Linked DNA regions of Homo sapiens: all the other regions are linked to region 3. Evidence: promoter capture Hi-C in 16 types of primary human blood cells and fetal thymus (Javierre and others, 2016). All regions are on one chromosome and are shown on one strand. The core of a region is centred on a gene start or on the middle of the fragment in contact, and the rest is flanking DNA. Distances in the headings are between cores, read along the strand shown.

The links. Contacts are between HindIII fragments. The CHiCAGO score rates a contact against its expected background, and 5 or more counts as called.
Region 1: a contact is called between a fragment that was not itself captured here and the fragment with the promoter of COG6 in region 3, in 2 of 17 cell types (non-activated CD4 T cells and activated CD4 T cells). The highest score is 7.1, in non-activated CD4 T cells.
Region 2: a contact is called between a fragment that was not itself captured here and the fragment with the promoter of COG6 in region 3, in 1 of 17 cell types (non-activated CD4 T cells). The highest score is 9.0, in non-activated CD4 T cells.
Region 4: a contact is called between a fragment that was not itself captured here and the fragment with the promoter of COG6 in region 3, in 13 of 17 cell types (total B cells, naive B cells, naive CD8 T cells and 10 more). The highest score is 12.5, in total B cells.
Region 5: a contact is called between a fragment that was not itself captured here and the fragment with the promoter of COG6 in region 3, in 5 of 17 cell types (naive CD8 T cells, total CD4 T cells, naive CD4 T cells and 2 more). The highest score is 7.5, in naive CD8 T cells.
Region 6: a fragment that was not itself captured here is called in contact with the fragment with the promoter of COG6 in region 3 in 1 of 17 cell types (activated CD4 T cells); the score reaches 6.5 in activated CD4 T cells.
Region 7: a fragment that was not itself captured here is called in contact with the fragment with the promoter of COG6 in region 3 in 6 of 17 cell types (naive B cells, total B cells, naive CD8 T cells and 3 more); the score reaches 11.2 in naive B cells.

Annotation. Positions count from the first base shown.
Region 1 is chr13:40,722,940-40,726,240 of GRCh38, forward strand. No RefSeq gene overlaps it. Among named protein-coding and RNA genes, the nearest start is that of MIR320D1, 3.3 kb to the right of the region's middle. The HindIII fragment of the contact is 1,960 bases long and covers 604-2,563 here.
Region 2 is chr13:40,926,406-40,929,603 of GRCh38, forward strand. No RefSeq gene overlaps it. Among named protein-coding and RNA genes, the nearest start is that of ELF1, 91 kb to the right of the region's middle. RefSeq lists an enhancer at 1,653-1,772. The HindIII fragment of the contact is 2,583 bases long and covers 121-2,703 here.
Region 3 is chr13:39,654,399-39,657,795 of GRCh38, forward strand. It overlaps COG6 (component of oligomeric golgi complex 6), which reads left to right and starts at 1,264. Exons shown (of 19, transcript NM_020751.3): 1 at 1,264-1,481. The coding sequence starts at 1,329. RefSeq lists a silencer at 1,528-1,577. The HindIII fragment of the contact is 8,496 bases long and covers 1-3,397 here.
Region 4 is chr13:40,759,577-40,762,842 of GRCh38, forward strand. All of the region lies in intron 2 of MRPS31 (mitochondrial ribosomal protein S31), which reads right to left. Among named protein-coding and RNA genes, the nearest start is that of MRPS31, 10 kb to the right of the region's middle. The HindIII fragment of the contact is 789 bases long and covers 978-1,766 here.
Region 5 is chr13:40,698,506-40,701,837 of GRCh38, forward strand. No RefSeq gene overlaps it. Among named protein-coding and RNA genes, the nearest start is that of MIR320D1, 28 kb to the right of the region's middle. The HindIII fragment of the contact is 3,255 bases long and covers 113-3,332 here.
Region 6 is chr13:40,797,192-40,800,499 of GRCh38, forward strand. SLC25A15 (solute carrier family 25 member 15) reads left to right here. Exons shown (of 7, transcript NM_014252.4): 3 at 1,866-2,124. It also overlaps the pseudogene TPTE2P5. Among named protein-coding and RNA genes, the nearest start is that of SLC25A15, 9.2 kb to the left of the region's middle. The HindIII fragment of the contact is 2,243 bases long and covers 653-2,895 here.
Region 7 is chr13:40,777,412-40,780,802 of GRCh38, forward strand. No RefSeq gene overlaps it. Among named protein-coding and RNA genes, the nearest start is that of MRPS31, 7.9 kb to the left of the region's middle. The HindIII fragment of the contact is 7,552 bases long and covers 1-3,391 here.

The DNA.
Region 1 (3,301 bases), core at 334-2,833, 1.1 Mb after region 3:
CCAGACTGTGGTCCTTTTTAAAATGTAGTGTCCTCTTCTAAGTTCAGGTGGTTGTTGGCAGGATTCAGCTATCTGAGGCTGTAGGATGGAGTCCCTGCATTGTTCTGGCTGTCAGCTGGGGGTTTCCATCAGCTCCTAGTGGTCCCCAAGGTTTCTTGACAGGTGGCTCATTCACAGGCCTTTTTACAACATGATAGTGCACTCTAGTCCGCTAACAAGGAGTCTTCTGTAACATCACATAATCACAAGAGTAACTATTCCATTACTTTTGCCATATAATATGAACCAGTCAAAGGAGTGACTACCCCATCACCTTAGCCATATTCTATCGTTGAAAGCAAGTCTCAGGTCTCATCCACACTCAAAGAGAGGTTGTGATTTACTTGGGGTTACTATAGGGTGGATTTCCAATCCTAATCACCTTTTTTCTTGCTATTCTGCATAGGCTAGGCCCCCAGTACAATGCTGAAATCATGATAGTGATTATCCTGTTCTTGTTTATAATCTTAAAGGAAATCATTTCGTAATTCAGCATAAAGTAAGATATTTGTTGTAGGCTTTTTGTAAATGCCACTTATTAGGTTAAAAAAGTTCTCTACTCCAAGCTTTCTAAAATTTATTTTAAAAAAATTATCAATGGCTGCCAAGGTTTACCAAACCTTTTTTCCTGCATCTTTTGAGATATGATCTTTTTCCTCCATTGTTAAACTGCCCTGATATTCTGGAACAAACTCAGCTTGATAATGATTTCTAGTCATTGCTGAATTTGCTTTACTATCTTCCTTTGGATTTTTCAAATTTGTCTTCATGATTAATTGTAGAGTGCTTCCTCTTTTTCTATGTTTTGGAATAATTTATATAAAATTGGAATTATTTTTTTCCTGGATGTTCAGTAGAACGTTCCTGAAAACTTCTCTGGGTTTAGTGTTTGTTTTCTGGGAAGATTTTAAAATATCCATCAAATTTCTTTAATGATTGTTCCATTTTTCCTTTAAAATTATTTTTGCTAACATAGTTTTGAGTAATTTGCCCATGAAATTTTGAAATTTATTGCCACGAAATTGTTCATAATAGCTTCTTGAAAAATAAATCTTAATTTTTACATCAATAGTTATTCACATTTTAAAGTTTTTTTTAAAAAATGATTTCCTCAGATACGGGGTCTTGCTCTGTCACTCAGGATGGGGTACAGTGGCACGATCATAGCTCACTGCAGCCTCCAACTCCTAGGCTTAGGCAATCCTTCCATTTCCCTCCCAAGTCACAAGGATTACAATGTGAGCAACTGTACCCAGCTTTTTTAAAAAATAAATCTGGACAGAAATGCATTTGTTTTTTTAAAAATGAATCCGTGTTTGACTTTATGGATCCTATTATACTATTTCTATTAACTTCTGCCTTTACCTTAGACATTTCATTCTATTTCCCTTTAAGATTTACTCTTATTAGATCTCCTAATCACCCCATCTCAGTTTTCTGTTTATATTGTGTTAATATTCCATTTGTAATGTGAAGCTAGTAGGATGTTCCTTTTTGGGGGGTTAATGGGAGTTCATCTTGACATCATAAAAGTGTAAAAATCAAAACCAAATAAGCATATATTTCATGTAGGCCAGGCATGGTGGCTCACACCTGTAATCTCAACACTTTGTGGGGCTGAGCAGGAGGATAGCTTGAGCCCAGGAGCTCAAGGCCAGCCTGGACAACATGGTGAGACTACAAACGAAAACATTATTAGCTATGCATGGTGGTGTGAGCCTGTGGTCCCAACTACATGGGAGGCTGCAGTGGGAGGATCACTTGAGCCCAGGTCAAGGCGGCAGTGAGCCATGTGCCACTGCACTCCAGCCTGGGCAAGACTCTGTCTCAAAAAAAAACCACCACCAACAACAACAGAACAGATTTAAAAAAAAAAAAAAAAACACCACTTGTTCCTTTTCTTATATCTTAAGATTATAACCTTACTTCATTGATTTTCATTCTTTTTTTCTTTTTGAGATGGAGTCTCATTCTGTCGCCCAGGCTGGAGTGCAGTGACGCAATCTCGGCTCACTGCAACTTCCACCTCCCAGGTTCAAGCGATTGTCCTGCCTCAGCCTCCCAAGTAGCTGGGACTACAGGCATGTGCCACCACACCCGGGTAATTTTTGTATTTTTTAGTAGGGACAAAGTTTCACCATGTTGGCCAGGCTGGTCTTGAACTCCTGATTTCAGGTGATCTGCCTGCCTCGGCCTTCCAAAGTGCTGGGATTACAGGCGTGAGCCACCGCGCCTGGCCTGAATATTTTTTTCACTGGCCTATGAATAAGTTAAAAGGGTTTTAAAATTTCTCAACATAGGGAGTTTTCCTGATTAGCGTTCAGTTACTGGTCTCTAACTTACTTGCAATGTAATTGGAAAACATGTTCTACATTCCATTGAAATGTGTCTAGATATGCTTTATGACTAAGTTTATGATTGATTTATCAACATGTGTGCTTGAAATAAATGTATTTGCAGCTATTTAGATCACTGTGTAATGGTCTACAAATTTCCATTAGGTCAAGATAATTAGGTATAGCAAAGCTTCTGTTTGTCTGCTGAGTTCATCAATTATTACGTTAAAATATTTTATCATAATGGTATATTTATTTGTATTTCTATCAGCTTTTGCCTTGTATATTTTGAGTCATGTTATTAGGTATGTACAACTTTGTATTTTTCTGATAAACAGAATTTTTTTAAGTTTCTAATGTCTTTCAGACTATTTTTTTCCTGATATTAATATAGCTATACCAGCTTACCTTTTACTTTCAACCTTTCTGTATTCTTGCTTTACATATAACTCCAGTAAATAGTGTTATCACTTGACATTTAAAAAAACCCAGCCAGGTGCAGTGGCTCACACCTGTAATTCCAGCACTTTGGGAGGCCGAGGCAGGTGGATTACTGGAGGTCAGGAGTTCATGACCAGCCTGGCCAACAAGGTGAAATCCCTTCTCTAATAAAAATAAAAAATTAGCCAGGCGTGGTGGTGTGTGCCTGTAATCCCAACTACTCGGGAGGCTGAGGCAGAAGAATTGCTGGAACCTGGGAGGCGGAGGTTGTGATGAGCCTAGATCGTGTCACTGCACTCTGGCCTGGGCAAAAAGAGCGAAGCTGTCTCAATAAATAAATAAAAATATAAATAAATAAATAAATAATCCACTTGGACATATTCTACTGTCATGTATTTTAATTAATTCCATATGGTATGACTGTTTTATTAGTGCTTAGAATTAAAATATATATTCACTACTTTTTTTTTTAATAGCAGACAGCT
Region 2 (3,198 bases), core at 162-2,661, 1.3 Mb after region 3:
AAAGAGAAAATCTTCCCAATCTAATGTCGAGGCCATCCTTAAGTAAGCGTGTTACACTTGATAATTTCCTTTCGAACTGAATCTAACAAGACTATCTTATTTGTATCTTTTTCACAATAAAGCTTTCCCAAAGAGAGGTTTATGAATTTGTGCACTTTACAAAGTTTTATATACGGATTTGTGCACTTTACAAAGTTATACTTTAATAAAATAGAAAAAAGATTTAAAGCAAAATCACTAATAATCAAAATTTAAAATGTAAAAAGCCATGACATTTACAGTAACATAAAAAATATTAAATACTAAAAAGTAAATCTGACAAGAGATATGCAAGACATGTGCACTGGAAACTATAAAACATTGCTGAAAGAAATTAAAGAAGACTCGGGAGGCCGAGATGGGTGGATCGCCTGAGGTCGGGAGCTCAAGACCAGCCTGAACAACATGGAGAAACCCCGCCTCTATTAAAAATACAAAATTAGTCGGTCATGGTGGCACATGCCTGTAATCCCAGCTCCGCGGGAGGCTGAGGCAGGAGAATCACTTGAACCCAGCAGGCGGAGGTTGCGGTGAACCAAGATTGCGCCACTGCACTCCAGCCTGGGCAACAAGAGTGAAACTCCGTCTCAAAAAGAAAAAAAAAAAGAAAAGAAAAGAAAGGAAAAGAAAAGAAAAAGAAAAAAAGAAAAGAAAAGAAATTGGCCAGGCGCGGGGGCTCACGCCTGTAATCCCAGCACTTTGGGAGGGCGAGGCGGGCGGATCACGAGGTCAGGATATGGAGACCATCCTGGCTAACACGGTGAAACCCCGTCTCTACTAAAGAAATACAAAAAAACTAGCCGGGCGTGGTGGCGGGCGCCCGTAGTCCCAGCCACTCGGGAGGCTGAGGGAGGAGAATGGGTGAACCCGGGAGGCGGAGCTTGCAGTGAGCCGAGATTGCGCCACTGCACTCCAGCCTGGGCGAGAGAGCGAGACTCCATTTCAAAAAAAAAAAAAAAAAATTAAAGAAGACTGAAAAATGGAGAGCTCCTCCAAATTGATGAGTCAAAGACTCAATATTGTTGAGATCTTCCGAGACTGACCTATAGACTCAACATGATCCCAATCAAAATCCCAAGTGGGGCTGTAATCTCAGCTACTGGGGCCTGAGACAGGAGGCCAGAAGTTCGCTTGAGGCCAGGAGTCCGAGACCAGCCTAGGCAATATAACAAGACCCCATCTCTGAAATAAAATAAAACTAAAAATCCCAGAGGCTTTTCCCTTTTAGAAGTTGACAAACTGATTGTAAAATTCAAGTAGAGGCCGGGCACGATGGCTCATGCCTGTAATCTCAGCATTTTGAGAGGCCGACGTGGGCGTATCACCTGAGGTCAGGAGTTCGAGACCAGCCTGGGCAACATGGCAAAACCCCGTCTCTACTAAAAATACCAAAATTAGCCGGGCGTGGTGGCAGGCGCCTGTAATCCCAGCTACTTGGGAGGCTGAGACAGGAAAATTGCTTGAACCCGGGAGGCGGAGGTTGCAGTGAGCCGAGATCGTGACACTACACTCCAGCCTGGGCGACAGAACGAGACTCTGTCTCGGGAGGAAAAAAAAAAAAAAGCAAATTGTACAGCTTTCCCATGAGATGCAAATTCAGTAAGTATGGGGTGGAACCAAAAAATTTGCATTTTAAGAAAAACATCGGCAGGGTACAAGGGCTCACTCCTGTAATCTCAGCACTTTGGGAGGCTAAGCGGGGGCGGATCTCTTGAGCCCAGGAGCTGGAGACCAGCCTAGGCAACATGGCAAAAACCCCTTTCTACAAAAATACAAAAAAAAAAAATTAGCCAGGCACAGTACACACCTGTGGTCCCAGCTACTCAGGAGGCTGAGGAACTCTTGAGCCCCAGGAGGCGGTGGTTGCAGTAAGCCAAGATTGTGCCACTGCACTCCAGACTTAGTAACAGAGCGAGAAACTGTCTCAAAGAAAAAAAAAAAAGGATAACACTGAAATAGTTGGCCTAGGAACCCAGTTTGATGGAGGAATTTGAATGGTAAGCTAAGGATTTTGGACTTTATCCTACAAGTAGAAAGGTATTGAGGGTTTCCATATATGAACATTATGTATTCCCAAGGGATATTTTTATTTGATTTTTTTGAGACAGGGTCTCATTCTGTCACCCAGGCTGGAGTGCAGTGCTGTAATCACAGCTCACTGCAGCCTCAACCTCCCAGGCTCAACAGATCTCCCACTTCAGCCTCCTGAATAGCTGGGACTACAGGCTCTTGCCACCATGCACTGTGATATTTTTACTTTTTCTGGAGATGGGGTCTCACTATGTTGCCCAAACTGCCAAGGGATATTTTAGAAAGACTATTCTGTAAATAGGTGCATGATTGTGATACAATAAAAACATTTTATTTGGCTTTTATCCCTAGGTTCCTGACACCCTAGCTTCTGAAACCTTTGGCATTTAGAAGGGAAGAGCATCTTTTGTTATTCGTAACAAGCTCCTTTCAACCATACCTGAGTTTATGCTAATAAGGTGGACACTTCATGGGTCCCCAGATAGTTTCAGGATGGGAAATGATTTCCAGAGAAACCAACCATGTAATTAGAATTGGAACTTTCAGTCCCATCCCCAAGGAGAGGAGAGGGTGTAGAGATTGAGTTCAATCACCAATGGCCAATGATTTAATCAGGCATGCCTATGTAATAAAAGCTTCATTTAAAAACTCGTAAAATGATGGTGTCTGGAGAACATCTAGGCTGGTAAACACTTTGAGGTGCTAGGTGGGTGGCACATCGTGAGACGGCAGAGCAGCTCTGTTCACTTCCTCCCATTCATTGCTTTATGCATTTTTCATTTGGCTGTTCATGAGCTCTATTCTTTATAATAAATTGACATAAATGTAAACCAGTAAATTGGTTCCCTGAGTTTTGTGTGCTCTTTTAGCAAATTATCCAACCTAAGTGGGTGGGGGTCATGGGAACCCCTGATTTATAGCTAGCTGGTCAGAAGTACAAGTGGAAACCTGGGACTTGCAATGGGCATCTGAAGGAGGGGCAGTTTTGAGAGACTAAGCCCCTTAACCTGTGGGGTCTGTGCTAACTCCAAGTGGTTAGGGTCAGAATTGAACTGAATTGTAGGACAAAGACACCCAGTTGGTGTCAGAACTGGGTGTGGGTGTGAAAAAATCCCAAGCTTTTAGTGT
Region 3 (3,397 bases), core at 14-2,513:
TGCAAGCTCTACATTATATTATTGCTTTGTATATATGCAAATTCATTTGGATATATACACCTTAGGTAAACCTTTGATATTTTAATTTTGGTTACACTGAACTTAAATTTATCTGTGAAAGAGAAAAGACATCTTACAATATTGAGTCTTCCTGTTGAAGAGAACAATATATTTTTTCATTGATTTAAGTTTTATGTTCTCCCAGTAGCATTTTAAAGTTTTCTTCATCTAGGTTCTCTGTATTTTTTGTTGAATTCATACCTAGATATTGCTGCTTTTTGTATATTTTTTTCTTTTGGATAGTTGGGCCTTCTCTTCTTCATTAGAGTAGAGATGAGTGGTTTTGTCAGTGCTTTCTTTATGTGACCTCTGTAATAGGTAATTTTCCCTTAAGTCTGATATACAATATAACTATGTACATAGACATATATGAAACAAGGAAAATTTATGACAAGAGCCAAATAGTGTTTCTGACAAATAATTCACAGAAGCCCAGCGATTTTATTTTGATCCAAATTTTAAAAACTGAGAAAAGAAAGAAAAAAAGCAATGATGTTTGTTTTCCAGAGTTTCCCGGGAAGTTTTTTCAACTTGTTACATTTTTATCCATTACTTTACAGCTACATGGGCTCTGGTCCATTTGTGTCAGGGCCAAGTTCATCTTGTTTTGAGGCCTGTACACTTACACACTTTCTTCTGCCTGGGAATGATTTCTCCTCACATTCTGATTCTCCTTCAAATCTCAGTTTAAGTGTCAACTCCTCTCCAAACCTCCCTGAGTGAAGTGGGCCTTTCCCTCCATTTTCTTTCACTGTACTACTTCATCCCCTGAGCACTCATCACAACCTAATAACATCTATTAACAGCTTTGTCTGTTTCAGACACACAATGTAGATTCTCCAATGCCTACCAGAGTACCTGGCACATACTATGCCTTCAATAAATAATTTTCAAAAAAATGAATTCAGATAAGGCAAATGTAATTTAAACTTTCAGTTAACTTATATTGAATGTATATGCCAGGCACAAGTCATGGTGTATTTTACATACTACATTTGGTTGTCATCTAATTAGCTCTGAAGGTCGCAGATCCATAATTCCAAAGTCCTCTCTAATCCTATAAATTTTCTCCTTCTACCTGAGGGTCTTGTCCCGCCCCCCACATCTTCTCCGCCCCTCACGCTTCTGAGAGCCCAAGCAGGGTTACCCGGCGAAGACTTCCGGGGCCGATGCGCATGCGCGGCCGATTTGCACATGCGCAATACTCGCGCTGCCTCCGTGGTCCCTGCCTGGCTGAGGTGGCAGCAGGGGGCGGGACGCGCAGCGCTATGGCAGAGGGCAGCGGGGAAGTGGTCGCAGTGTCTGCGACCGGGGCTGCCAACGGCCTCAACAATGGGGCAGGCGGGACCTCGGCGACGACCTGCAACCCGCTGTCGCGCAAGCTGCATAAGATCCTGGAGACGCGGCTGGACAACGACAAGGTAACCGGGGCTGGCGGGGCCGGAGTCACAGGTTCCTGCGGGGCTGAGCCGGGCCAGGGGCGGCGTCTGTCAGGGACCCACCGCGGTCTCCCTCGTCCCGGCAGCAGAGGGACCGCGAGTGACCCCAGACCTGCGGGCTCCGCTGCTCTGCGGGCGCCGGGGGCGGTGAGAAGGGGGAGCCCCAGCAACCTCCGGAAAAGCGAAGGGGTTTCCTGGGTGTTCTCTCCACCTGAAAAGGTGCCTTCAAGGCTCTCTGGATGGGATTGGTGAACGGTGGTGCCTCGAGAAGTGTCCTCCAAACACCCCTGGAGGCGTTTGGCTGTGTGAGCTGGGAGAGTGGAGGAGAGCACAAGACTGGATATGAAACAGATGCAAAAGAGCAGATTCCAAGATAAGGTAGCGCAAATGGGGGTCGGGAGACCAAGAGAGCAGTGGTAGGGATAAGGGTGCATTTCCACGGACAAGTGACAACAATTGCAATAATTTGCAGCGCGAAAGAACTACCTTTGCCCGTGGCTGAAATGAACTCATATCTACTAGTTTTTGTTGAGCCAAGCGCTATGATTTGTGGGCTCAGGCTGTATTTCTTTAGAAGATAAACTGACAGCATGCTCTCACAAGTACCTCCTGAAACTTAAGTTGGACTTTACAGCTCCTCACATACCCAGCCATCTCTTCTGTCTCTGTGGGTCGCTAGGTAAATTGGTCATGACAGTGTAACATAAAGAAGAACATATGTCAAAGTTAGAGAGTTTTATAGGTGAATATGTAGGTAACTGAAAATAAGCTGTCGATAACAATTTGATTCCGATATGTAAAAAAATAACATTGCAATGTAATGAATAAGAAATTAGGGCTCTGGAGACTACCACTTATTAGATAGAACCACTAAATGTGTGCATCATGATTTGAGTAAGTCCCTTCACTAATCTCAGCTTCTGTTTAGGAATTAGGAATCCTGCTGTTAAGTTTCTCATGGTTGTTATTTGAGGACTCAGTGAGAGACTCCAGGTAAAGTCCTTTGCAAAGAGCCTGGCACTTACTCTTTCTTAACAAATATTAATTTTATCATAAAATTTATGAAGTGTTTAATGTGTCTCATATTGATATTTATTATATCATTTAAGACTGCTACTTGCTCTGATATAGATAACATGGCCTTCTTTTTTGGACAGAGTTTTGCTCTTTTTGCCCAAGCTGGAGTGCAATGGGCGCAGTCTCGGCTCACTGCAACCTCTGCCTCCCGGGTTCAAGCGATTCTCCTGCCTCAGCCTCCCAAGTAGCTGGGATTACAGGCATGTGCCACCACGCCTGGCTAATTTTGTATTTTTATTAGAGACGGGGTTTCTCCATGTTGGTCAGGCTGGTCTTGAACTCCTGACCTCAGGTGATCTGCCCGCCTCAGCCTCCCAAAGTGCTGGGATTACAAGGCGTGAACCACTGCGCCCGGCCACATAACCTTCTTTTTACCATGAGGAAAATAAAGCATGGAGAGAGTGCAGCTAGGTTGTCATATAACTAGTAACTGGTGGAACTGTAATTTGCATCTGAGTCTGTGATTTCATTCGTTCAACATTACTGATTACTTCTTTGAACCAGACCTTAGGACATTTCAAGGCTATAGTCTAAAGAAACTGCTTCACTTCATGGGTTTTTTTTTTCTGTACAGTAAGTATTTATAGTTGTAAACATATTTTTGCTTCCTCTGAAATATTAAATTGAATTTATATAAATAGTTTTACTGTTTTTGTCAATCCAGCCAATATTTCAAAATAACAAATAGAAACATGAAAGGGTAAGCCTACTAGAATATACAGTAGTGGAGGTGTAGAAATGTATATCTGCAGAATTTAGTGTACAATGGGGATGTCCTGGGCTTGGTTCTCTGCTCTCTCTTCCATTCATGTTTTCTCTGT
Region 4 (3,266 bases), core at 122-2,621, 1.1 Mb after region 3:
ACAAAGGCAAGAATTCTCAACTATTAGGTACCGGTTTTATATAAACTTTGAAATGTTAAATGTTAAAATTAATGGATATTTGCTGAAGCACAACACTAACTCAGAACAATATATTAAGGTGGAGGGGTGAGGGACAGATCAGCCTCAAAAATTATAAATTAGTGGAATTTTTAATTAGATGTTATTGTATTTCAGAAACAATATATATTGTAAGCAAATATAAAGGCAGGTTAACCAGTTCGCAGAAACTTTACTGGAACCAACCTAAAAGTCTATCATCAGAACAGAAAAACAAATTGTGATATATCCATACAATGGAAGAGTACTCAGCTCATGACAACATGAATGACTTTCACAGGCATTAGATCAAGTGAAAGAAGTTGGACACAAAGAATATAAAATATAAAAATTAGCCAGGCATGGCAGCACATGCTTGTAAAATCCTAGCTACTCTGGAGGCTGAGACATGAGAATCGTTTGAACCTGGGAGGTGGAGGTTGCAGTGAGCCAGGATTGCGCCACTGCACTCCAGCCTGGGTGTCAGAACTAGACTCTGTCAAAAAAAAAAAAAAAAAAAAAACTGTATGATTCCATTTATATCAAGTTCCAGAACAGGGAACACTAATCTGAGGTGAAAAAAAAATCAAAACAGCAATTGCCTCAGGACTGATGGCTACTGACTGGGAAGGTAAAAATGAAAAATGTAGTGTTTTGCTAAGTGTGTGGGTCACAGGGACTTACCTGTTTCTCAAAATCCTACAGCTAAGATTTGTATACTTTAATACATGTAAATTTTACCTGAAAAAAAGAGCCATAAATCATCATCAAGTAGGAGATGGAAAGTGGGTGAAGGCATAGGACATACAAGAATGGCAAAATGTTGATCACTGTTGAAGCTGGGCAACAGTAGAAAGGCGTTATACCATTTTGTGTTCTTTGCATATGTTTTAAATTTTTCATAAGAAAAAGCTTTTAAAAGCTTCCTAAATTAGAGCAAGTTAATAGAAAAACATTCTATTATAAAAAGAAAATAAACTATTTACAACATTTTTTCCTTTTTTTTTTTTTTTTTAAGAGACAGGGGTCTCAATATGTCGTCAAGTCTGGCTTCAAAGTCCTGGGTTCAAGCAATCCTCCCATTTCATCCTCCTGAGTAGCTGTGACTATAGCCAACTGCCACCATGCTTGGCTATTTGCAACATTTTTTAACTCACTGAGAACTGACATCTCAATGAGTGGGATCCAAATTAATGTTTTACTATACCTGGCTTTCTATATTATGATACGTTACCTAATACGAAAGTTAAACTTCCCAAATTCCTGAAGTTCTTGGAGAAAGATTTTAAGGACTTAACTAAGTTATGAAAGATCTAAAATCTGATAGGAATAGAAGAAAAAGAGAAGAATTAAACAAGGGGTCGGGCACGGTGGCTCATTCCTGTATAATTCCAGCACTTTGGGAGGCTGAGGCGGGAGGATCGCTTGAGCCCAGGAGTTTGAGACCAGCCTGGGATAGAGAAAAAAAGAAAAGAAAAAAAAAAATTAGCCAGGTGTGGTGGCATGTGCCTATAGTCCCAGCTACTGGTGAGGCTGAGTGGGAGGATCACTTGAGCACAGGAGGTAGAGGCTGCAGTGAGCCATGATTTTTCCACTGCACTACAGCCTGAGGCACAGAGTGAGAGTCTGTCTCCAAAAAAAAAAAGAAAAGAAAAATAGAGAAATATAAGTTAAAATAAAATGTGCTTTTAAAACTTATCTGTGAATAAAGCTTTAACCTTGTTCCAAAGTCATTGTATTTCTTTCATAAACTACTTGTGAACTTCATTTTCAAATTTTAATATATTTGATCAAAGTATACACAGAACATAGATGAATATTCATTTTCTAGAATCATACATTTCATAACAATGGTTTCCTATGTAGTTATACTCTCTGGCTTTATAATTTGAAATGTTCTAATTAATAAAAAATTGTGGGGGAGCCTCTGTCATTGAATAATTTTTACATACAGGGATCTTTCTTCATATATTTTAACAATGTAAGGAGAACTTGTTAAAGTATCTTTTAACAATCTATTCTATCCTGTAATTAAAACCATTTCATTAATACAAACTTTTCCCCTTCATAACATTCTGTACTTTTTAAATTTCTTTAAAATAAACTGTATGACATACAATTTCAGAAAAGAATTCTGATGAGGGAAAGAAACTGAGTGGATACTTAAATTGGCACCGCTTTTGGCAGGCAACTTGGTGCCATATATCAAAGGCAAAAAATATATATATGCACATCTCTTGACCTAGCAATTCCACTTCTAAGAATATGTGTTTAAAGAAAATAAACAGAAAAAAAAAAAAAAGAAAGAAAGAAAGAAAAAATAAACAGCTGGGCATGGTGGCTCACGCCTGTTATCCCAGCACTTTGGGAGGCCAAGGTGGGCAGATTACTTGAGTCCAGGAGTTCATGACCAGCCTGGACAACATAGTGAAACATCGTCTCTACAAAAAGAAAAAAAAAAAACTAGCCAGATGTGATGGTGCATGTCTGTAGTCCTAGCTACTCGGGAGGCTGCGGTGGGAGGATTGCTTGAGCCCAGAGGTAGAGGCGATTGTGCCACTGCACTCAAGCCTGGGGAATAGAGCAAGACTCTGTATCAAAAAATGAAAGAAAAGAAACAAATTTGTGGAATTTGAAGGATACTGCATACTCCAACCTCAAGGCCTAAGCAGTTCTATCCTCTATGCCTGAAAAGGAATTCATCTTTCAGATATCTACATGGCTTTATCCCTAATTTGATTCTAATCTTTGCTCAAATGTTACCTTATCAGAGTTCTTCCCTAATTATTCTTAAAAATAGCACCTCTCCAGCCCCCTCATTCTTTTTTTTTTTTTTCCCACCCAGGCTGGAGTACAGTGACACAACCACAGCTCACTGCAGCCTCAACCTCCTCAGCTCAAGTAATCCTCCTGCCTCAGCTTCCTGAGTAGCTGGGACTACAGGTGCATGCCATCACACCCAGCTATTTTTTTTTCATTTTTTGTAGAGACTGGGTCTCACTATGTTGGCAGGGCTGGTCTTAAACTCCTAGACTCAAGCAATCCTCCTGCCTCAGCCTCCCAAAGTGCTGGGATTACAGGCTGTGCCTGGCCCAACTCCATCACTCTTATTTTTCTTCATGTTTCACCACCTGACATAGTATAGACATTGTGTGTGTGTGTGTGTGTGTGTGTGTGTGTGTGTGTGTGTGTGTGTGTGTGTGTGTGTT
Region 5 (3,332 bases), core at 490-2,989, 1.0 Mb after region 3:
TACATTACACTGGTAATTCTAAAGTACTTTAAAGGAAATCGCCATACAGACAATCTACCACTGTGAAACTCAAAGGTAGAGGAGAATTAGTGGGTCTTGTCTGAGTAGCAGAAGCTTGAGAGACACGGCGCTCGGGGTTGATGATTTTGTTTTGCTCTTGCGAGAATGGGGGAAGGGAGCTATCAGGAAAAAGAGGTAATTTGTGAAGAAAGATGAAGACCTTGAGATAATGTTGGACACAACAAGAAACAGACCATTATGAATACATGACTGGGGCTCAGAGAGAGGTCAGGCTGAGTGTTCGCATGTAAGAGTCATTCTTATGGAAATAAGAATTGAAGCAGGAGCAGAAGTGGTTTCTCCAACTGAGAGTGGGAAAAGAACAGAATAACCAGAGTTTATTTACGTTGGGGAGAGGAAAAGGTGCCGTTTATCTGACAGAAAGGGAGTTGGGGCCGGGCGCGGTGGCTCACGCCTGTAATCCCAGCACTTTGGGAGGCCGAGGCGGGCGGATCACGAGGTCAGGAGATCGAGACCACGGTGAAACCCGGTCTCTACTAAAAATACAAAAAGAATTAGCTGGGCGCGGTGGCGGGCGCCTGTAGTCCCAGCTACTAGGGAGGCTGAGGCAGGAGAATGGCGTGAACCCGGGAGGCGGAGCTTGCAGTGAGCCGAGATCGCGCCACTGCACTCCAGCCTGGGCGACAGAGCGAGACTCCGTCTCAAAAAAAAAAAAAAAAAAAGGGGGGAGTTGGGCCATGACACCTACAATTTACATTACCTCCTATATCAGGCCGGGCACCGTGGCTCATGCCTGTAATCCCAGCACTTTGGGAGGCCGAGGTGGGTGGATCACCTGAGGTCGGGAGTTCGAGACCAGCCTGATCAACATGGAGAAACCCCATCTCTACTAAAAATACGAAATTAGCCGGGCATGGTGGCGCAAGCCTCTAATCCCAGCTACTCTGGAGGCTGAGGCAGGAGAATCACTTGAACCCAGGAGGCTGAGGTTGCAGTGAACCGAGATCGCCCCACTGCACTCAAGCCTGGGCAACAAGAGCAAAACTCCGCCTCAAAAACAACAACACAACAAAAACATTACCTCCTTCATCACAGAGAGTGTGGTAGAAAGGGTTGTATGTTACACTCTTGGGCAGGGTTCTTAGCCCCTTGCACATGGACTCCCTCGGTAGTTGGGAGAAACCTGTGGACTCCCTCTCAGAACAGTGTTCTTAAATGCATAAAATAAAATACATAGGATTACAAAGGATGCCAATTATGTTGAAATACAGTTATCAAAATAGTTTAACATGTGATACAATAATAAATATTATTCTTTGATTGACACATTAAATAACAAGATCTAGTGGCAGGTGTAATAATTACTATAATTTTGAAGTAGTAATGAGCATAAATTATATTTTGAGATACGTGCAACAACTCTAATGTGAGATGAAAATAACTGTGACTTCTATGGGTGACAAAGTCATAGGTACTGCTAATACTACTGTGTTTTGTTGTGTGACTTCATAATGGAAGGAAGTGCTAATTTTCAGTTAGAGGTGAATGGAAATAAGAAAGCATTTTTTTTTCCTATTCAAGTTCACCAACCACCTCCCAACCCCCCAAACATCATGGGACCTTCAACCCCAGGTTAAGATTTCTGTTCCAGGGTTAGTCGGTCAAATTACTTCATTCATTTAACAACTATGTTTTGAATGTCAACCTGGGCTAGACATGGAGAAACGAGAATAAATAAGCTGCAAGGAGCTCATGGTGAAGTTAGGGAGACCAGCACATAAATAGATGCTCCTTCTTAAGGAGCATCTTAAGCTCCTCTTCCTTCTTAAGCTCCTCTTCCTCTCCCTCTTTCCTAATATCCAAGTCTTGAACACACCATCTTCTTGCCTCAGGGCCATCCTATGTGCCATAGCTTGCCTTGGATGTCCTCTCCTCACCCCAACACACATACACAATTCACAGAGCTTGTTCCTACTCATCTTTTAGTTAGTTCACAACTTAAACATCACTTCTTCTAGGAAGACTTCCACAACTCTCCCCCAACTGCGTGATACAGTGGTTCAAAGCACTTAACTAGTCCTTCTTGATGGACACTTCAATTATCTCCAGTTTTTAATCATTACCAGCAATGCAGTCACACATAGACACACACACACACACACACACCCACACCATTGTATACTTGTACTTCTATTTCTGATGGAAACTTTTTAGAAGTGGAATTGTTAAGACAAAATAAATGCACATTTTGCATGTCCATCAATACTACCAATTGCTCTCAAATAGGTGCTATAGAGGATCTGCTTTCTCACACTCTTAATTTTTTTTTTTTTTTTTTTGTGAGACAGAGTCTCGCTGTGTCACCCAGGCTGCAGTGCAGTGGCTGTGATCTTGGCTCACTGTAATCTCTGCCTCCTGGGTTCAAGTGATTCTCCTGCCTCAGCCTCCCAAGTAGCTGGGATTATAGGCGTTCACCACCACTCCCAGCTAATTTTCATATTTTTAGTAGAGACAAGATTTCACCATGTTGGCCAGGCTGGTTTCGAACTCCTGGTCTCAAATGATCCACCCACCTTGGCCTTCCAAAGTTCTGGGATTATAGGTTTGAGCCACTGTGCCCAGCTTACTCTTAACAATATTATCAATCTTTTAAACATTTGTTAATATTTTCATAAGATGGCAACAATCTCATTGTTAAGTTTACTTTTTTCTCTTTTTTGTTTTTTGTTTGTTTGTTTGTTTGTTTTGAGACAGAGTCTCACTCTGTCACTCAGGCTGGAGTGCAGTGGTGCGATCTTGGCTCACTGCAACCTCCGCCTCCTGGGTTCAAGCGATTCTCCTGCCTCAGCTTCCTGAGTAGCTGGGACTACAGGTACATGCCACCAAGCCCAGCTAATTTTTTGTATTTTTAGTAGAGACAGGGTTTCACCGTGTTAGCCAGGATGGTCTCGATCTCCTGACCTCGTGGTCCACCGGCCTTGGCCTCCCAAAATGCTGGGATTATAGGCATGAACCACTGTGCCCGGCCAAGATTTTTGATTATCAATGAGATTGAACATTTTGTAATTCTATTATTTAAAATATAAGACGTAATTATTTTGACATTATGGATAGAAGAATGTGAGATGGAAAATAAAACAAAATTAATATTCCTGCTTAAAAATAAAGGAGCATTTTAGGAAGGAAAGCACTTTGATATAAATGGCATTTGTACCTAAAGCATTTTTTGGAGTAAACAAAACATTTTAAACCATGCTTAAAGCTAACCATATATATTGGCTGTTTTGCTTCAGATTATTACTGAAGATGCT
Region 6 (3,308 bases), core at 524-3,023, 1.1 Mb after region 3:
AGTTGTTGCTAGCATTTGTACATTCATTAGCCTCCCCCTTCTCCCTGTTGGAAATGTAACTGTCCCAGCTACACAGCAAATGTGTATTCTAGTAACCTGTGATGCCTGAACTGTTCAAGATGATCAAGTTAAAATATGAATGTGCTGAATTAAATGCTTTATTCAGCTTATCTGCATCTAGGCTCTCTGAATTACGCACCCACTTAAAACATTCTGTCACCTTTTCTCTTGGAATAATTAAATTATTTTAATGTAATTCAGATTTCTTTTTATCCTAGCCCAGCATTACCTGGGAGAGAATGACTCAGGATTAATCATAATAAAATCATATTAAATTATATTCCACTAATTCAGAATTGGGGATAATTTGGCAATTAAAGGCGGAAGTGTGTCATTCCTCTCCTGTAAGAAATGAACAGTAATGATGGGCTCACAGAGATCATATTGCTTGTTGCTTAAAAAAGAGATCAAGCAGTTTTCAGACTCTGGAATTGTTGGCTTATTTGCCAATAAATAATTGAGAATTATTCTTAATGTCCCTTCCCCCAACTCCACTTTCCAGAGTTTAGATGGAATAACTGTGTATAACATCAAATTCAGGAAGTTGCATTTCTTAAATATTTTCTGTAAGCCTTCTTTTGCATTTTGATGAAGCTTTAAGAGCTCCTCTCAGGTCCAGAAGGAGACGGTAAACACTAACCACTGGCAGTTCCCACGACGCCAACCCTACTACAGGGTGTGGGGATGTTGTAGGGTGGTTACAGTTCATTCTTCTCTTCTGTTTAGAATTTTTACTAAAATGATTTCACGTGGCTGGGCATGGTGGCTTATGCCTCCCAGCATTTTGGGAGGCCAAGGCAGGAGGATCATTTGAGGCCAGGAGTTAGAGACCACCCTGGCCAACATGGTGAAACCCCATCTCTATGAAAAGTACAAAAATTAGCCAGGCGTGGTGGTGGGTGCCTGTAATCCCAGCTACTTGGGAAGCTGAGGCACAGGAATTCCTTGAACCTGGGAGGTGGAGTTTGCAGTGAGCTGAGATTGCACCACTGCACTCCAGCCTGGGTGACAGAGCAAGACACCATCTCAAAAAAAAAAAAAAAATTATTTTGTGCAATGTAGACTCTGCTGTATTTAATCTTATAGAAGTATATAAATAAAGGATTTAAGCATAAATAAATTTCAGTTCATTCTCTATTTACATACACGTTATTAATCGGTAGAGCTCAAATTAAAGAGGTTTTTCTATAGAATGAAATATTTAGCTCTTTGGGGATTAATTAGCCAGACTCCTTGTTTCCTTTCCGTGGTGCCGGGTCTGATCAGTCCCACTGGGCATTAGGCAAAGTGAGCGATGAAGTCTTCCCAGGTCTCCCCTCCCTTTCTGTGGTTTCCGTTTCTTGTGCACACAGTAGCTGCTGTTTACTGATTACGTAGCCGGTGCTGTGCCAAGCCTGTCTCCTCCATTTTTATTTAATCCTCACGCTAACCCTGTGAGGTGGCATGGATGAGGAGCTGAGGCTCAGAAGTTACATGGCTTGTCCAGGATCTCACAGCAAAGCCATAGTCCCTCTGACCCTATTGCCCAGGCTCCTACATATTCACTGCACTGTTTGCCGCTGTTGAACACATGTCTGTCTCTCTCCCCTGCCTGGCATGAGCTCCTTCAGGGTGGGACTTAGATGCCAGGCACATCAAGGACCTGCTCTAAATTGTTTACTGGACATGGCTGGAAGGTTTTGGAGGAAAAGAGGTTGAAATGAACCGAAGCAGGGGTAAGTTCTGGGGTAGGCTGCCTGTGCCTTCCTTCCATGGATAATGGAACTGTAGCCTCGTACTAGAGCAGTCATCTGTCCTGATTGCAGGAGGTACAGCATGTGTACTGACCGGGCAGCCCTTTGACACAATGAAAGTGAAGATGCAGACGTTCCCTGACCTGTACCGGGGCCTCACCGACTGCTGCCTGAAGACTTACTCCCAGGTGGGCTTCCGTGGCTTCTACAAGGGTACCAGTCCAGCACTAATCGCCAACATCGCTGAGAACTCAGTCCTCTTCATGTGCTACGGCTTCTGCCAGCAGGTGGTGCGGAAAGTGGCTGGATTGGACAAGCAGGCAAAGCTGAGGTGAGTCAAGGACACACACTTTTTTTATTTGTTTAAAAAAACCCCACAAAACTGGCAAGACATGGTGGCTCATGCCTGTAATCCCAGCACTTTGGGAGGCAAAGGCAGGAAAATGGCTTGAGGCTGAGAGTTCAAAACCAGCCTGGGCAACACAGCAAGATCCTCATCTCTACAAAAAAATAAAAATTAAAAAAAATCTACTGTTGTATGGTCACAATTTTACTGGTGCCTTATGTGGAAGAACATTTCCTTTTTTAAAAATAACTGCTTTCCTTTTATTTATGAAGTTATACATTGTCATCATATAAAACTTAGAAACCACATATGCACACCACAGAGGAGACCTGCTCATCATCCACCACTGAGAATGAACCGCCCTTCTGTTTCAGTTTTCTCCAGGAGAATGCTGTTCAGATGCAGCTGGCAGTGCTACCTCTCGTCAGCAGACATGCTGCACTGAAACTGTAGATGCTGCTTATGATCCAAGATTTAGCTTTTCTTTCATTAGCAAAAAGCAGAGTATTGGAAGAGGTTGTCTGAGCCAGATGAACTTGAGGAGTTTTAGGAAGGGTCGGAAATGTCTGCGAAGATGCAAGGGAACCCACCTTTCTCTGTCCAAATCTTCCCAAAACATCAGACTTTGCCTCTTTGTTGGTCTTGCCTTGGGTATTTATTATATAGAGACTAAACAGAATTTGGAAACCACTGGGATGTTTAGCTATCCCTGCTTTGAATGTTGATTTATTTTATACCACTTAAAATTATTATATAAGCTTCAAGATTGCAAAGGGCAGTCTTAGTTATTTCAGTAGGAGTTTGAAACCTGATTGCAGCTGCAGGTCCCACACAACTGAATTCGGTTTCTTGTGCACAGCACTGTTCTCTGGAGGTGCCTGGAGGTCTGAAGGTGTGCCCTTTTATAGACAGGAATTCCACCATGATGGGTAGAGCTTGTTTTTTAAAAAGGCTTGGGACTAGATACGATTGCCCAAGAAGACAGTGTAGACAGCGAGGAGGGCTGAGCATGAATGGGATGAGCCTCCAGCACAGAAAGGGCAGGCAGGAAGGCAGTAAAGAAACAAGCAGGGCACAAACCAGGAGAGTATGGCATGCCATGATGGAGACTGAACAGAAGCAAAAACTACAGGCAACTGTAGTTTTGTTCCCTGTTGAAGGAGAGACAC
Region 7 (3,391 bases), core at 190-2,689, 1.1 Mb after region 3:
ACTAATGTACGAAAACCCACATTGCTAGCTTATTGTACTAACTATCTCAAGAAAATTTAATTTTTAAAAGAGGTGCTTGCAAATTTCAATAAGCAAAGGCTTCGTCTGAGATTATTTTCTTTTTGCATTCCTGGCCCTCTCAAGTTATGCCTTCGGGAAACTGCTTCTCTAAGGGCTAACCCAAGCTGGCCCTTAGATGTATTTGTTATGTTCAAGTGCCCTCTGGAGGCAAAAACAGTCTCCTATTAGATAAAAGACAGGTCTGCCAAACACCCACAAATGATTGGTCCCTGTGCTGTGGGGTCCATTCATTCCTTTCCATCTTTCTTTGTGCAGGTCTAGCACAGCCCTGCCTCCGGGCCTTCAGCTTAGGCACGGAATCTTCTTTGGCCTGGAATAGCCATTCTAAAGACTGTCCCACGATTGGTTCCTTCACATCATCCACTTTAGCTCAGCAGGGCTTTCTCAGGAGTGCACCACATCTAGCCAAGCCAACCTTCCCACTCTGTCATGTCATGCTGTTTCCTTGTCTTCCTGCATGCAGCACTATCTGAAATAATCTTCCATTCATTCAACACATTCCTTGAGTGCCTGATCATATGCCCTGTCTTATGCAGTTGAGATAGATCAAGGTACAAATACAACACGTTCTCTATCCTAGTGGAATTTACAGGCCTTGTGAATTACATGGTTTCCTTTTTCATCATCAGCCTCCCGGCTAGAATGTAAGCTCTGGGAGAGCAGGGACCTCTGTCAGCCTTGTTCACTACTTTATCCCAAGAGCCTAGAACTGTGACTGGTACATCCTTCATGGTCAATCAATATTTGTGGAATGAATAAACAAATGTTTATATTAGCCAGGCACAATGGCTGTAGCAAGAGGATACCTTGATGCCAGGAGTTCAACACCAGCCTGAGCAACATAGCAAGACTCCCATCTCTAAAAAAAATTGATTTTTAAGTTTATATTTTCTATCAGGATACACAACTAACATTTTAAACTTCTTTTGCCGTGACAAAGTTAATTCATTCCATTATCACAACTATAAAAAATGAGGCAAATTATATACATCATTATTATTCAAATGATCAGTAACAACAATAGTTAGCATTTGTTGACCACTTACTAAGTACTAGAGGCTATAAGTGCTTTATATGTATTGTCTCATCTTCACAAATTTTTCTGAGGCAAGTAACACCATTCTCCCTTTTTTTTTTTTTTTTTTTTAAGACGGAGTCTGACTCTTTTGCCCAGGTTGGAGGGCAGTGGCACAATCTCGGCTCACTGCAACCTCGACCTCCTGGGTTCAAGCGATTCTTCTGCCTCAGCCTCCAGAGTAGCTGGTACTATAGGTGTGCGCCACCACACCCGGCTAATTTTTTTTTGTATTTTTAGTAGAGACGGGGGTTTCACCATATTGGCCAGGCTGGTCTCGTACTCCTGACCTCAAGAGATCCACCTGCCTCAGCCTCCCAAAGTGCTGGGATTACAGGTGTGAGCCATTGCATCCGGCCCATTCTTCTCTTTTTAAGATGAGAAATTTGAGGCTTACAGGAGCTTCTTACCATCGCAAAGTCATCAGGTGGGAGAGCCAGCTTTTGGGGACTGGTCAGTCGACCCAGAGTCCATGCTGTCAACCTCCACCACACAGCCACGTTCACATCATGATGTCTGCATCACTCAGCAGCTCCCTCTACCATCTTCTAAAGAAACTCTACACTCTCTTAGCAGGGCCTGTGAGACCCCACGAGATCAGCCCCACCTCCTTTGCTAGTCTCCTTCCTGTTACTTCTCCTCCTACCCTGACCAGAGCCCCTGTAGCTCCCGGACACGGGACATGGTCATGGCTTCCCCACCTCCTTGCAATCTTATGGTGTGTTCCCTCCTTCTGCCCTGCCTAACTCCTCCTCCTGCTTCAAGGCTCAGCTCTTGCCCCCTCCAGACCCTTTCCTGGTGCTCTGGGTGCCCATGCACTGCTGCTCCCAGCTCCTTGTGCCTGGCTCTGTGATTCTTAGTGAATGGAATGAGGTGTGGCTTTTCATCTCCAAATTTCCAGTGCTTAATTGGAACAGAGAGGTTGGCAAAATACTTTGAATGATGGTGCATTTGGGAGTTGGCCATGTTTTACAACTTTAGGCACAGTGACGAAAAGAATACTATTGTAAATAAGAGGGTTAGGGCTGGGCACAGTGGCTCATACCTGTAATCTCAGCACTTTGGGAGGCTGAGATGGGAGGATCATTTGAGGCCAGGAGTTCGAGACCGGCCTGGTCAACAAAATGAGGACCCCCCCCCCTTCTCTACAAACAAACACACCAACAAAATAATTTAAAAATTGGCCAGGTGTGGTGGCACATGCCTATAGTTTCAGCTACTTAGGAGGCTGAGGCAGGAGGATCATTTGAACCTGAGAGCTCGAGGCTGCAGTGAGCTATGATCAAGCCACTGCACTCCAGCCTGGGCAAGAGAGCGAGACCTTGTCTCTAGAAATAAATTAATTAATAAAATAAAATAAGAAGGTTAGAATGTGGCCCATGGAAGTCCTCAAAGGTGCAATCACATGAAGCTGAGAAGCAGCGGCATGGAGCAGGGAGTACTTAGAGCGTCACCTGGCAGAACCTGATCTTTCCTCTTATTCCCACCCCAAGAGACTTTTCTGACTCATCCAGCTGGAAGCAGAGAGGCTAGGATTTTCCCTTCAGGTGTCTGACCCAGAGCCTTCATGCTAAGTCCTAAGGTGGTGTCTCAACTGTGCTGGGCCTTTATTTGTGTGTCCTTTCAATGGTTGTATCTGCCTACGTTTGACCAGAATAATTAATTTAATGAAAGCACTTTAAAAATGTTTATAAACAGCTAAGTATCTAGTGATGGGTGCCATATAAATATTTAGATACAAAGGGTCTAAATTCAGATTATTTTTACTGGGGGAACCATTATTAATGTAATTATAAAATAGTACATTGCAGATATGTACACACGAGAGAGAGAGGGGAGAGAGAGAGAGAGAGAGAAGCTGTGTACACTTGCTACTTCACAACAATGATACAATTCAACAGATTTATGACAATGATCCCTTTAGACAGATACTAAAACTCACCAGGGGCAGAGCCCTGGGCCAGTCAAGGAGAAGTCACAGCTCCTAGGCCTCAGCAGGGAACGCTAAGATACAAGCACTTGCCCTTCCTGGGTGGAGTAGTTCACACCTGTAATCCTAGTACTTTGGGAGGCCAAGGCAGGAGGATCACTTGAGACCAGGAGTTCAAGACCAGCCTGGGTGACATGGCAAAACCCCATCTTTACAGAAAAATATAAAAATTATCTGGGGGTGGCGGTGCACACCTGTAGTACTCAGGAGACTGAGGTGGGAGGATTGCCTGAGCCCAGGAGTTC